Regions from separate parts of the Homo sapiens genome. Here all the other regions are linked to region 1. The links are contacts of gene promoters, found by promoter capture Hi-C in blood cells and fetal thymus (Javierre and others, 2016). All regions are on one chromosome and are shown on one strand. The core of a region is centred on a gene start or on the middle of the fragment in contact, and the rest is flanking DNA. Distances in the headings are between cores, read along the strand shown. Region 1 holds the start of ZFPM2 (zinc finger protein, FOG family member 2). Region 2 overlaps ZFPM2 (zinc finger protein, FOG family member 2). Region 3 overlaps ZFPM2 (zinc finger protein, FOG family member 2).

Evidence for each region. Contacts are between HindIII fragments. The CHiCAGO score rates a contact against its expected background, and 5 or more counts as called.
Region 2: a fragment that was not itself captured here is called in contact with the fragment with the promoter of ZFPM2 in region 1 in 1 of 17 cell types (megakaryocytes); the score reaches 6.1 in megakaryocytes.
Region 3: a fragment that was not itself captured here is called in contact with the fragment with the promoter of ZFPM2 in region 1 in 1 of 17 cell types (endothelial precursors); the score reaches 5.9 in endothelial precursors.

Annotation. Positions count from the first base shown.
Region 1 is chr8:105,317,057-105,319,756 of GRCh38, reverse strand. It overlaps ZFPM2 (zinc finger protein, FOG family member 2), which reads right to left and starts at 1,319. Exons shown (of 8, transcript NM_012082.4): 1 at 776-1,319. The coding sequence starts at 815. The HindIII fragment of the contact is 6,875 bases long and covers 1-2,700 here.
Region 2 is chr8:105,637,212-105,640,119 of GRCh38, reverse strand. The region is part of intron 5 of ZFPM2 (zinc finger protein, FOG family member 2); the gene reads right to left. Among named protein-coding and RNA genes, the nearest start is that of ZFPM2, 320 kb to the right of the region's middle. The HindIII fragment of the contact is 3,099 bases long and covers 1-2,908 here.
Region 3 is chr8:105,720,174-105,722,873 of GRCh38, reverse strand. The region is part of intron 5 of ZFPM2 (zinc finger protein, FOG family member 2); the gene reads right to left. Among named protein-coding and RNA genes, the nearest start is that of ZFPM2-AS1, 340 kb to the left of the region's middle. The HindIII fragment of the contact is 1,418 bases long and covers 686-2,103 here.

The sequences.
Region 1 (2,700 bases), core at 70-2,569:
ACAGCTTCCGCGCTGGGAAGTGACTGGCGGCCCCTCCCAGGGAGGACTCCGCGCGCCACCAGGGCCAGACACCACCCGAATCCCCGCTCGGCTGAGCGTCCTGGCGGCGTGAGCCGGACCCGCCCGAAGTCCCAGGACACGACCTGCCAGCCACCAGCCCGCGCCCGCAGGGCAGAGACGCACGGCCGCCCGCCGCAGAGGCGCGAACTTTTACACCTACTTTTTGTTTCGCTTCGGGTTTGGTGTGGCTCTGGCACCGCCCAGGATCGGGACCCTGACGCTCTGATTTTCCACCGCGTGGGGAAGTTACCTCCCTCGCCCCGAGGTCTCGACCGCCCAGCTTTTCTGAGAAGTTTCTACCCTGGTTACTAAAAGTGGTTCCCAAGAGTAGTCCCACGTCAATCGCACAAAGCAATGACAACAACAATAATAAGCGTCTAAAGGAGCGGGACTGCCCCTCCGGCTGGACGACAGCGCCGGGGACTCGCAGCGTGCGCGGGTCGGAATTAAAAAAGCAGCCCGGGAGCGCGAGGGCTGAGCGGGGCAAGCATGGGCTGCTCCTCGCAGCCTCTCTCCTGCCCGAGGCTCGGGCTGGCCGTCTGTCTGTCTATGACTGTCTAGTTGTCCCTTCGACTGCTCAGGCAAAGTTTGAGACATCTAGGGGACCGGGAGCGGATCTCCCCTAGCCCCGCCACCCACCCACCGCTTTCCCGTCCCGCGCACCCCGCTCCTGGGCAATAATCCCACCAACTCCCGGCCCCGCGCGCAAACTTACGTTTGATCTGCCGGGGTTTGCTTTGCTTTCGCCGGGACATCTCGGCGGCGGCTGCTGCCGCTGGGGCTCCCGCGGTGCCCGCGGTCGCGGCTGCCGCTCCCTCGGCTCCCGCCGCCGCCGCCGCCGCCGCCGCCGCTGGCCAGGCTCGGCCCGCCGCCGGCCGGACTCCAGGTGCTCCGGGCGCTGGGCTCCTCCGGGAGCCGCGGATTCACGTTCGGAGATGAGCAAGCAAATGAGAGAAGAGAGACGGGGGCACAGAGAGTGTGACAGTGAGGAGGGGAGGGGGAGAGGAGAGCGACGGGGGGAGAATGGGAATGTACAAGCGAACGGTCAGGGAGAGAGAAAAGGGGAAAGAGAAGAGAAAAATAACACGGAAAGAAGGAAGAGAAGGAGGGAGGGACGGGAGAGCGAGCAGCGAGGAGAGGGGGAGCGCGGGGGCGCAGGGCGCGGGAGGAGGAGCGCGCTCGCTCGCCCCTCGCCCCGGCGTGCGGGACGGATACTCCGGCGCCGCCGCCGCCGCTCCGGGCCGCGCAGCTCCTGTTCTGCGGCGGGAGGCGGCGAGGCGCGCGAGGGAGGGGCGCGCCGGGGCTGTGGGGAGGGGAGACTATTCCATCAGCCAAAGGAGGATTGGCTGCATCCAAATCCAGTCCGGATGCAAACTACGGCCCCGGCCTTGGTCGGGCGAAGTGCGGGGGATCCAGGCGGTGGTGGGGGATGGGGGCAGGGGTGGGTGGGAGTTGGAGGGGAGGCGTGGGGACGGCTTGGAGGAGGGCCACCTTCTGCAGTTGTCACCGCGTCAACGCTGGGCAGCTGCCAGGGCACCCCGCCCCACCTCCTTCCAGGCAACTTCTTCCAACGGCCCTCTCTGAGGGACCCCAACTCTCCTCTCTCACGCCTCGCCAGTCCAGCGGGGCACAAAGAAATCTCAGTCTCTCCCTAAACTTTGTGCTTTCAGTTATGCCGCCCCCTCCCCTCACCCCCAACCCCCGCCCTCCCAGCTTCTTGGCAGGAAGGTTAGGCCACTGGCAAAGTCCTCGGCGAGAGCCAGATGATCACAAATGCCAACTGTGTGTCTTGGGGCCAGTTAAGTCCGCTCATCTGCCCAGGCTCTCAGAAGACCATTTCTTTGCTCTCAAGGCTCCCAGGAGACCGCTGCGGACACGGACCGTCCCGCTCTGGGCCCACGTGGATGAGGTGCTGAGTCGGATCCTCAACGTGTTCTGTCACCCACAGTTTCCATTTTAAATTGTAAAATATTCAAATTTGGAGACAAGCAGATATTTTTCTCATCTTGAAAAGGAGGAGCGAGCGTTAGCTAGCTGATTAGCCGTAAGTGGAAAACGAACCATCTCTAATAAAAATACTAACTTTTTGGGAAAGTCTGGGGAAGTTCTGTAGTCCCACCCTGCCCCGTGACCTTTCTATTCTCTTAGTCTTCTGCCACAGGGAAGCACCGATCGACTAATAAAAGATTTGATCTTGCTGTAATTTCCCAAGCGGGTAAGACCCAGTAACTATTTAATGGTTCTTTAGCTTCTAAAATTTTGTTTTATTCTTATTCAATTACTGTATGTGTAGTATATCGGCAACTGCAAGCCAAAAGGAGAACAAATTTTGAGGTGATTTGCATAGTTATTATTTTGGCCAAGTTAAACTGTATGAGGTTAGCTTATTTTCTTACAGTTTCATATACGGTAAGTATTAAATATATTCTCCCATGTGGGTTGGAAGGAGCTTCTATCCAAGTGCAGTGGGACTAGCTGCTTTATGTAATCAGTATTTACTAATAAACTCCACTGCAGTTCACATGAGTCCCCCAGATACTGCTGACTTTTCCCCCAGGAGGTTGTGAAGTGGACCATTCTGATCTCAAATTGTGTCCCCGTTTGCTTGGTTGACTATTATTTGTGTGAACCACACCAAAC
Region 2 (2,908 bases), core at 238-2,737, 320 kb before region 1:
TCTGTAAAATGGGAAAAGCACTGTTTCGATATCATGAATTTGTATTGTAAGCAAGAAAATGTACGTAAAGTGATTAGAACAGTGTCTAGAATAGAACAAAGATTAATAAATAGTAATTGCTATTATTAGTATTAATAATATCATCATTTTCATCTTTATACTAGCATTGTATATAAGACTTTCACTAAAATAAAAGTATCACGTGCCCAAGAAAAAAATCCAATGATATGCTCCCAGACAGGCTTCAGGTCTCTAATTCTGTGACACAGATCTCTGCAAATATTCTGTGGGTTCAAAGTGACTGAATAAGACTTGTAGAAGTCTTCGCTATAAATACGATATCACTATATGCTTGATACCAACATGGAGGCCTGGCTTCATTTTCTCTCAGTGTGTACTGACTTATGACCACAAGGACTGCTTGTATGATAATCAGCAACATAATATTGATCATAACCTCTGCAATCATGTAAATGGGTGCTTCACAAAAATCCTGCATGGTAGCCATTGCTATTCCATTTTCACAGCTGAGAAAATCAAGATTAGAGTGGGCAAGTGATTTGTCTAAGGTTACACATGAAATATAGATTTTTATAATAATATTGTGGCTTCGCATATAAAGAAATATTATGTTGTTGAGGTGAGAGTGAGGGTTAGCAGATACTTTTTCACTCTCTTGATTGACAGTGTTTATTCTCTTAATCTGGAGACCTAGAGAATGTGGCTACTTTGAAATAACAACTACAAGAAAATTGAAAAACTAAATAATGTAATTATTCCCGATTTGAAGCTGAGTGATTAAACCCACATGAAAGATGCTAAAGGTGTAATTTTAAATATCCTCAAAACGTAAAATTCTAAGTACACTATTTGTTTTTCATATGAAAAGGTCACCATACTTTGCAAACGGTAGATAGCATATAAGAAGGTAAGGTAAAGAAGTAGATCATCAGTGCTCAACAGACAGTGGATTTTAGGAGTAAGTGGGCAGGCCTTTGCTCACCCTACTCTCCAGCAGAGCTCCTTTTAACTTCAGCATTATGCTTTTTAGTATTTATCCATAGAGATAAGTAAATTAGAATTATCTGGAGTCTGTTGAGAATAATGGCAAAAAACAGACGACCCAACAGGTCTGGTCCATCAATGTCTGGATGACCTAATTACTTTCTGGAATGACAAGGGGTAGGTGAGGCAGGAACAATGTACATCAGATTCGAATGTTAATGCCAACTACTATACTTTTAAAAATTTTTATAAAACAAGATGATGGCAACCTGTCAAAAAGCACTAAGTGATATAATACAATTTTATTTTATAATAATTATTTGATGGACACGCTGACAAGGAGAGATTTATAGTCATATTTAATTTTGTTACTAGCCTACATTTAGGAACACTTTAGGAAGCAAGCATGCCTCCTAGATGGTAATAGTTAAACATTAAATGGGCCTATTTTCACACCATAAGAAAACACTATCAAAAATCTCAGTCAAGGCATTTTTGCAAAATGTCACACATCTGCAATTTATCTTCTATTTGTAAACAGATACTGATATGTTCTCAGATAGCCAGGTCCTATAATAATGATTTGGCATTGAGTTTATAAGTAGTTTAGGTTTTTAGGAAAACAAACAAATAAATACAATTGTGGCATCAGGAATTTAATTTTCATCGTCCATGAGAGCTTTTTAGACTTTAGGAAATAATATGTGATACCTGGGAGCATGGATGTTGGCCCAACAAGCAACCACTCTTTTGTGGCAGCATATCCTTGGTTTTATTTAGGGAACTACCTCTCCTCCATTTCAGTGGCTCATGCAGGGTTAATTTTACTTTTAGGCCCCAGGCTGACTATGGCCTGCCTAGGAGAGTCATAGTGATTAATTGGTTCAGGGAATGGTATGTGATGTGCTCTAATCACAAAACCCAGAAAAGCTCTCTTTTCACCGAAGTTGCTATGCTGGTGGAATAAGTCTGGAGCTTGCCACTACTTATCTGAGAATGATGCCCACACAAGAAAGAAGAGCCAGACGATAGAGAGAGAGAGTTTGGGGACAAAGTTTGAGCAACTGAATCAAGCAGTTCCTGACATCCAGAATATCCCTGGACTCTCAGTTATATGAGCAGATGAACCCATCTACCCCAAAACACACACACACACACAATTTTTTGGCAGAAGCTAATTTCAGTTAGAATTCCACCACTTGAAAACAAAAGAGGCCCAATTAATAAATAATATAGGCATTACGAAAATGCCACAAACATTGTGGAGTTTCAAGTTAACACTTGTTAACCCTTCCATCTTCAAAACGCTTTTGCTTTGAGGAGTCTTATCATACATACAGATTGTGGAGACAGACGACTCCTGAGTCCAGTGTGTTTGGATACGAGTAGGAGTGCCTCCCGGGATCATATTTTCCATGATCCAAACAATCCCTAGTAAAATCCCAGAATATTAAGGTATTGACACAACTTTGGGACATGCTCTGGGTGAGCTGTCTCCTCCCTCTAAAGGCACTCTAAATACTAGAAATTAGTTCCAGGCCTCTGAACCCCAGGTAGAAGATCAAAGAAGAGTCTGGAGCAAAGTAGAGAAATAAAAATATATGTTGAAATGCAAATGATCAGGGTTTTTTGCTTTTGTTTTTTACTGCATAATTCTAGATCATTAATAGCAGCATCCATTGTGAGTTTTCAAGAGGGCTACGATAAATGATATTTGGTCATGGGGCTTTTTCTTTAATCTTAGGGTTCCATGAAATACATTTTGGGAAATGCCACACTTTAATATATATATTTTGTGATTTCTAGGGATAAAAGCCCGAGTGGTTTTGATTGTTACTCATCATTTAACAGTGGCAAAGGGAAAGGCAGAGTCATGTAGTTCAAGGAGCACAAAATTTGGAGC
Region 3 (2,700 bases), core at 145-2,644, 400 kb before region 1:
GAAACATTTTTAGAGAAATGAGAGAGCAGAGTCAGACCGAAATTACAGTGTATTTCCATAAAGATACACCCAGTGTGCCTGCCTCTCCTGCCTCCCATTTCACCTCCACCTCTTCTGCCTCTGCCACCTCTGAGACAGCAAGACCACCCCCTCATCTTCCTCCTTCTCCTCACACTATTCAATGTGAGGACAGCAAGGATGAAGCCCTTTATGATGACCCACTTCCACTAAATGAATAGCAAGTGTATTTCCTCTTCATTATGATTTTCTTGACATTTTCTTTTCTTTGGCTTACCTTACTGTAAGAATATAGTATAATAAACATAACATACAAAATATGTGTTAATCAATTATTTATGTCATTGGTCAGGTTTTTGGTCAATAGTAGGTTATCAGTAGTTAAGTTTTTAGGGACACAGAAGTTATATGTGGAGTTTCAAATGCATGGGGGTGGGGATTGGCAACCCTTATCCAGGTGTTCAAAGGTCAATTATAGTCATAACCAAGGAAGAAATTGGAATAATCGAAAAATAAATTGACAATAGAAACAAAGATCCAAAGAATCTCCCATGGTCCAACAAACAAAGGAGCTTGACCTAGTCTAGAAAATATATTGGTATGAAAGAATTAAGTTATTCTTTATAAGCAGGAAGCAGGGTGGGGAAGGAAGAAAGAAAAAGAAGCTTCAGAGGGGTACAAGGCCTTTGTGTTGCAAAAATCTGGTAACATCTGGACCAAAGCTGTCCATTAATATAATATTAGCCATATATATAATTTTAAAAAATTAATAACTACATAAAAAGGAAAAAGGTAAAATTATTTTAATAATATATTTAATCTACCATATCAAAAACATTACCAATTTATAACTGATGTTAAAATTTTAATTATACCTATATATAGTATTAAGTCTTTGAAATGTGGTGTGTATTTTACATTTGCTACATATCTCCAATACAGACAAGTCACATTTCAAGTGCTCCATAGCCACAAGTGGCAAGTGGCTACCATACTTGATAGTGCAACCAGCCATGCCTCATTTCATGTGAGATGGCAAGAGATGAATAGGTTTCAACACATGTTCTCGTATATTCTTTCTGAGAAAATTACTTAAGAGTTACTATCTAGCTGATAATTCAATATTCATGGATAGAAGGCCTGATGAAGGTAAGAACAAGAGAATATTGTGTCTATTTTACATTTTATTTTTCAAAAAATAGAGTGAAAACCAATAGTGACCTAAATACAGTGTGAATGCAAAAAAACTGTAACCTGGCAACAATGGGAATTCAAAGCAGTATTTTATACTTTTTCCTATTTTCAAATTGCTCCAATGAACATATATTACTTTTTTTAAAAAAAGTGATTTGATATTAATATAATCTGTTGTCATTACATAGAAAAGCTGTGAGAAAAAGATAAACTTTCTGTTTTTGTGGAATTATAAATATGGAAGGCTACATGAATCATGATGAAATTCATTCATTCAACACATACTGACTGCCAAATTTGCATCATGTGCTGTGCCTTGGGGCAGTTATCTATAACTGGGATATGTGAACAGTGGAAAGTACAGTTGCCCCTTGAACATGGGTTTGCAGATCCACTTAAACACGATTTTTTTCAACCAAAGGCAGACGGAAAACACAGTATTCACTGGATGTGAAATTTGTCTATACGTAGGGCTGACATTTCCCATCTGTGGGATCTGCAGGGCTGACTGCAGAACTGGAGTATGCATGGATTTTGGTATCTTCAGTGGTCCTGGAACCAGTCCCCTATGTCTACAGAGGGACAACTATAAATGAAGACGTTCAGGGTTTTGCCTGCATGGGTCGCTAAAAAGGAATGATTTTCTAGGTTTTTACAATGCAGTCGTTCTTACTAGTTTTTTCGACTTTCTCTTCCACAAAAGGCTTTTTCATTTACACAACGAAAGGCCCAAGACCCTACTTTTACAGATGCAGCAAGGTGGATGCCAAAACAATGGGACTGTTCTAGGATGCATCTCCTCTCCCAAGTGGGAGTCCTTTCAGAGCCCATCCGAAATGTGGAAGTGAGCTGAGGTTTATTTCATCCAGGTGATAGAGCTATTGGTAAGCTTCTGTGCCTTATCTATATATCTATTTTAGGATAAGAATTCAGAAGTGAGATGATTGTCTCGGGGACCTGAATTTACATGCTTATTTGAATTGGAAAATGAAGTCAGAGTTTTTCCTGACAGCTAGGAGTGATCTGGCTGATTGGCACGACAGAGATGTTCTTTTCCAATTAGGTGATGTGGCAGATATTTTTCATGAAATGATTGAGCTAAATCTGCAGCTCTAAGGTTTTGATACAAATATACTGGAGGCACATGCACAATACAAGGTAACCTAGAGATTATTAGTAATTAATAGTGGTAAATTAGTAGTAAATTAATCATAAATTAGTAGTGAACACTAAGAATTAATAATGACTGAAAACTCTTTAAACTTATGATTAAACTTTAGATAGCAAGGGAATTCATCATATTTCAACATTCATTTACTGGAAACTTGAATCAAAGTTTTGTGAAATATGTAAAACCTGGAAAATGTTGGAGAAGGACATTGATACAGCAGGATCAGGTGGGTGGGAGGAGTGCAGGGCAGCTCATAAGGACATGAGCAGAATCGTATGAATAATAAATTGCATTATTTATACAACTATTTCTGTTCA